2 separate regions of the Homo sapiens genome follow, and region 2 is linked to region 1. Evidence: promoter capture Hi-C in 16 types of primary human blood cells and fetal thymus (Javierre and others, 2016). All regions are on one chromosome and are shown on one strand. The core of a region is centred on a gene start or on the middle of the fragment in contact, and the rest is flanking DNA. Distances in the headings are between cores, read along the strand shown. Region 1 holds the start of DEPTOR (DEP domain containing MTOR interacting protein). Region 2 has its middle 11 kb from the start of COL14A1.

What was found. Contacts are between HindIII fragments. The CHiCAGO score rates a contact against its expected background, and 5 or more counts as called.
Region 2: a fragment that was not itself captured here is called in contact with the fragment with the promoter of DEPTOR in region 1 in 6 of 17 cell types (M1 macrophages, erythroblasts, M0 macrophages and 3 more); the score reaches 7.7 in M1 macrophages.

What each region holds. Positions count from the first base shown.
Region 1 is chr8:119,872,358-119,875,057 of GRCh38, reverse strand. It overlaps DEPTOR (DEP domain containing MTOR interacting protein), which reads right to left and starts at 1,336. Exons shown (of 9, transcript NM_022783.4): 1 at 1,090-1,336. The coding sequence starts at 1,211. RefSeq lists enhancers at 599-648, 739-838, 473-973, 1,039-1,298, 974-1,474 and 1 more and a silencer at 1,318-1,490. The HindIII fragment of the contact is 2,864 bases long and covers 1-2,686 here.
Region 2 is chr8:120,112,381-120,115,137 of GRCh38, reverse strand. No RefSeq gene overlaps it. Among named protein-coding and RNA genes, the nearest start is that of COL14A1, 11 kb to the left of the region's middle. The HindIII fragment of the contact is 605 bases long and covers 1,002-1,606 here.

The DNA.
Region 1 (2,700 bases), core at 87-2,586:
ATCAGTTAATTCTGACTTCCAATATTGGTCTCCTTCAGAGACCTTTGCAAGACACTCTTTCAGGTCCTGAAACACAGACATTTAGAAACCAAAACAAGCTGGGGAATTCAGGCTAAGAACTAGAAGTAACAGGGGCCCGCGTACAAGTTGTGGCTCAAACGCTGCAGAGCTGGGTTTTCTTTTTCCTGGCAAACTGATTTATAACCACACGAAGGGCAGCTGCAGAACCAGTTAGACCATAAGTACTATTCCCAAACAGCCCTAGAGGAAGGACCATACAGGGATGGGAATGGCAAGGGGGATTCTGGGGGTCGTCCTTGTTCCCAAGTTCCGTGAGACGCCGCAAGTCTTAATTCTTGCAGGAGCCAGGGTCCCCATGGATCCTGCTGCCCAAAACGTGCGAGCCCGGGGAGTTGGCACAGCCTCAAGGCAGCCCGACAAGGTGCCTCCACGCCCCCTTGCGGACCCAAATGATTGAGGACGATGTGCCAATTAACTGATAGGTGCAGGGTTTCAGAAATGCTCTCTCAGTTTAACCTCACAAAAAGCCCTTGAATCAGCCCTGTTTTACAGATGTAAAACACCGAGGCTCAGGGGAGTGAAGGAAGACTTGTCAGCAAAAAGGAAAACCTAGTGAAGACTATCGTTGGTCTTGCTCCTTTTATCAAGGAGTAGAGGGGCTGGGGTCGCCTCGGGACCCCACAGCGACCCCTCTTGCTCTCTTCGCGGATGAGGCGCAGGCTGTCAGCCGGGAGGCCTGGCGGCGTCCAGGTACACGGGAAGACGGACAGCGCGGTGGGTGGCAGGGACTTTGCCCGGCACAGGACTGCAGCAGCCAGGCTAGGGCGCAGCGCGCACCACCCGCTCGTCGGCTTCTGCCAGGCAGCCCCGCTTGGCGAGCGAGTCCTCAGGGACCGAGGCTGCAGCAGCTAAGCGCGGGCGCACCGAGGACCATCCACGCGCCCGCAGCCGTTCCGGCGCCCCACGCGAGTCGCAAGCCACGAGCCAGGGAGCGCGTGCGCGCAGGACTGCAGCGGGCACGCGTTGGCAGTGCCATCGTGAGCTCACCCGCTGTGTCTCTTGCCTTACCGTAGCTGTTCCCCGGTGACCAAGACCTCAGCCATGCGCTCCAGCTCCCTTTGCTGCGCCCCGCCACTCCCGCTGGTGCTGCTGTCACTGCCAGCACTGCCAGTGCTGCCGCCCTCCTCCATGGTTTTAGGGCCGTGCGGCTACCACTGGCTCCGCTGTCCGCCGAGGGTTTGGGTGCTCGGATCAGTCTGCCCTCACAGACGCTTCCCGCGCCATCTTTGTTCGGGGCAGCTCCGCTGCTCTGACTGGATTGGCTGGAGAGGGAATCCCTATGGGTAGGCAGACGCGCTGGGCTAGTCCGGCCCCAGAAACTTGAGCTTGGGGGCGTGGCTAGAGCCCCTCATGGTCGGGGGGCGGGGCCGATGGAGGAAAATATAAACATCTGGGCGGGGCGCTGCTACTGAGCTGTGTGTGCTGCTGGAGGCTGAATTTGGTGAGCTCTCTTTACCCACAAAGCTCATGCTGTAGAATCCTGGGGACAGGCCTGGAGGTTATTAGTGTGAAGGCGTTTTTATTGTACGTTCCACACCCCAAGTTGCCAGAGAGCAAAACATAATTCAACAATCTGGCCAAATGGTCAACAGTGAAGGTTATACATGTCATTGAAGGGCATGGAGAAATTAAACATTCTTCTCTCCCCAACCTCTCTCTCCAAAGACGACTTGTTTGCCTTATGTTGTAATCAATAAGGAACGCCGGCCTAGGAATCAGGCTGACCTGGGATCCAGCTCCGCTCCTGTGATGTCCTATTTAAATGTGTTTAATCCTCCCTTACAAAATAAAAATAATTGCGGCTACCACTTTTGACATCTGCTGCATTAAAGATACTTCAGGTATGGTATTACCTCGTTTAATTATTACAATAATTCATAAAATAGGTATTGGTGTTCGTTTTGCATTAGAATGCAGGCTTGGAGAGGTGAAGTTACTTGTCTAAGGCAAGCAAATAATAAGTATAAGAAGAGCCGGGCACCGTGGCTCATGCCTGTAATCCCAGCACTTTGGGAGGCCGAGGCGGGCAGATCACCTGAGGTCAGGAGTTCCAGACCAGCCTGACCAACATGAAGAAACCCCGTCTCTACTAAAAATACAAAATTAGCCGGGCGTGGTGGTGCATGCCTGTAATCCTAGCTACTTCGGAGGCTGAGGCAGGAGAATCGCTCGAACCCGGGAGGCGGAGGTTGCTGTAAGCCGAGTTCGGGTGAGCGGAGTTAGTGCCATTGCATTCCAGCCTGGGCAACAAGAGCGAGACTCCGTCTCAAATCATCATAATAATAATAAGAAGAAATCTAACCGAGGCAATTCTGGCTTCAAAGTTATGCTTTGAAAAGACTGAAAGACTGCCTCTTAAAATGGGGATACAATGGTATTGTCTATCCGTAAAAGATTATGAAAAGAAATTTGATTAGTACCAAATAAATGTTCTGATTTTCTGTTTCATGCAGAGTCGGAGTTGGTCTGCAGGAAGGCGAAGTAATGTTTATGGCAGTATTCATGTGTGTTGAGCATTTATTCTGTGCTTTACATTGTGCCAAACACTTTATCCTCACAAAACCCTGGAGTTTGGTATTATTTTCAACTTACAAATGAGAAAGCTTAAGTATAGAAAGA
Region 2 (2,757 bases), core at 55-2,554, 240 kb before region 1:
TGTAAATGGAAGTGAGAATTCAAATGTCACCAAAGCTAATATCCTTAACACTATGCTGATCTATTTTCCCATTCACATTCTTTTAATCAACTTAATTTCATGTTGCCTATTTTTTCTCTTTTAAGGAAAATTACTTGACTATTCTGAAGAAGCCACAATAATAACACACACCCCCAAAAAACAGTAAAAACTGATGACAAGGATGAAGCATTGTTACCTGTTACCTGTTGCCTATTGGTCAAGCCAATATGTTGCTAAAGGAAAAGAAAGAAGTGGTGATTGCATTGTACATCGAGCCTAAAGCTACGTCTCAGATTATTTCCTGCTATTCAGGCTGTTGCTTCCATATACAGCATAGTCCATAGATTCACCAAGGCTAGCCTCAGGCCTCTGGTGAGACTTCCTCCAAGAACCTACACCCCAGAAAAAAATTTTGGATAACATATAACCACCAAGATATATCCACTGAGACTACAAAGAAATTTAAAATATTAATAGGAGCAAAACTTTAAACCAAAGGAAAGACATCCTAAGGCAGCATTTCAAGAATCAGCCTTGGGAAGATTGAAGAGGGCCAGAAAGTCCTCTCTGAGGACATTTTAGATTTTCCAGAGAAATGAGAAGCACACAGAGCTAGAAATAAAGAGAAAACCACAGAGATCTCTTCTTTTAGAGAATTGAGAGAGCAGAGAGACAGAGAACGCATGAGATAGAAAATCTCATATGGGTCTAGGTTTTGGAAAATTCTGTTCATTATGCTGTGGTGAAGTGTTCTGCGAAATTTGTTATTTGTTTTGTTTTCAGCTGTTATTCATGTAAGTTGTGGTTCAAGTTAGTATCTCTTCTGATCTGTGCCCTTTGACGTGTTAATTAATTGATGAAACTTTTGTTCTCAAACTTTTTACTATTTCAATCCAAAACCTTCAGATTTGTCTGAAAATTCACCATGGGCCACTAGACTGAGAATTTCTCTACCCTGTAATAGCCTCAGTACAGAAGCTTAGAGGAAACCAAGCTGAGCACTGAAATCAGTTGGCAGTGCCCTGCTCCCTCTGTGACTGTATTCACTTAAAGTTGTCCAGATTATGTTCTCAGGATCAATGACCATTTTATCTGTGTCCCTAGCACCTGGCTTAGCATATATTATCAATCCAAAACATGTTCTCTGAATGAATGAACAAAAGCAAGAATGAATGAGCAAACCACCATATTCCAGCAGAGCACCATGATGGTTTCGAGCTTGTGTTCGTCTCCAGGCTTTGCCCTCATGAGTTGGGTGACATTAACTAAGTTATTCAAGATATGCCTTCTCATTAACTTATGCCACAGATATTACTGCTGGGCTCTGAGTATGCATGGGGTGAGCAAAACAAGTCCGTTGGCCTTGTGGAGTCTAGAGTCCAGCTACACAAACACACACTGACAAAACATGAAGTGCTCTGATGGTAGCGGGCTGAGGGGCAAGAGTGCAGGTATTATGCAACTTATTCAGGTAGAATGATCAAGAAGTACATAGGTGAGGAGGTGACCTTTAGGCTGACAAAAAGAGAGACAGCCAGCCTTGAGAAGATATGAAACAAAAGCATTCTGAAAAGAAAGAAAAGCTTTTATTAAGTCCTTGGGTTTTCAACCAAACAATTGAAAAAAAGAACAAGAAAACAAAGTCATCGGGCAAGAGAGAGCTTGCATAGGCCCAAATTATTTTGAATGAGCAGAGTTTGGTGAAATCAGAGGAGAGACTTAAGACCAGGTGGAGTGGCTCAGAGCCTTTGTAATCCCAAGACTTTGGGAGGATCACTTGAGCCCAGGAGTTGGGAACCAGCCTGGGAATAAGACCTTATCTCTACAAAATAATAATAATAATAATAATAATAATAATAATTAAAAATTAGCCAGGCATGATGACACGTGCCTATAGTCCTAGGTACTCTGGAGGCTGAGATGGGAGGATCGCTTGAGCCTGGGAGGCACAGGTTGCAGTGAGCCCAGATCACGCCACCACAGTCCAGCCTGGGTGACAGAGCAAGACCCTGTCTCTAAATAAATAAATAAATAAATAAATAAATAAATAAATAAAGATGGGTGATGTGAGACACAAGAGGTGAACAAGGATCAGACCTTGGACAACCTTGTATGCCAAGGTAAGTATTTTGACTATATCTTGGCAATGGAAAGTTTTAAGTAAATGAGGGAAATGAGCAACCCAGAGTGTCTTATTTAGCTGACCAGGAGCAGGGGCAGACATGGGTATTTTATCAGAATCTTCTCAGTGATTCTAGCACACAGCCAAGGTTGAGATCAACAGTCTGTATATTCCTGCAGGAGCAAACCCACTTTACTTACATCCTTCACCTGCTCTGATCCTCCCAGTGGTGGCTCCTTTAAACAGAATAAGGTGTAAATATATTAGCTTAGTAATCAAGTTCCTCCGTGTCTGCCTTAGCCTAACTTTCCTATCTTATGTCCACTCAACCTCCTGGACAAACTTTATAATGTAGATTAAGGATGTGAGTTCTGAAGTCAGAGCCAGACATGTTACTTTATCCACATTGTAGCATGGTAGTTATAGTTACCTCTTATCGTGTTTAGGAGATTTAATTTTATAATATCTGGAAGGCTCTTCACCTATTACTTAGTAAGCACTTCCTAAAAGTTTGCTCTTGTATTATTCCCTGACACCCAAATAGAATTTTCCTAATTCTGCCCTTTTTCTGATGTTAAACCATATGAACACTTTTCTATTCCCATCTACCTAAA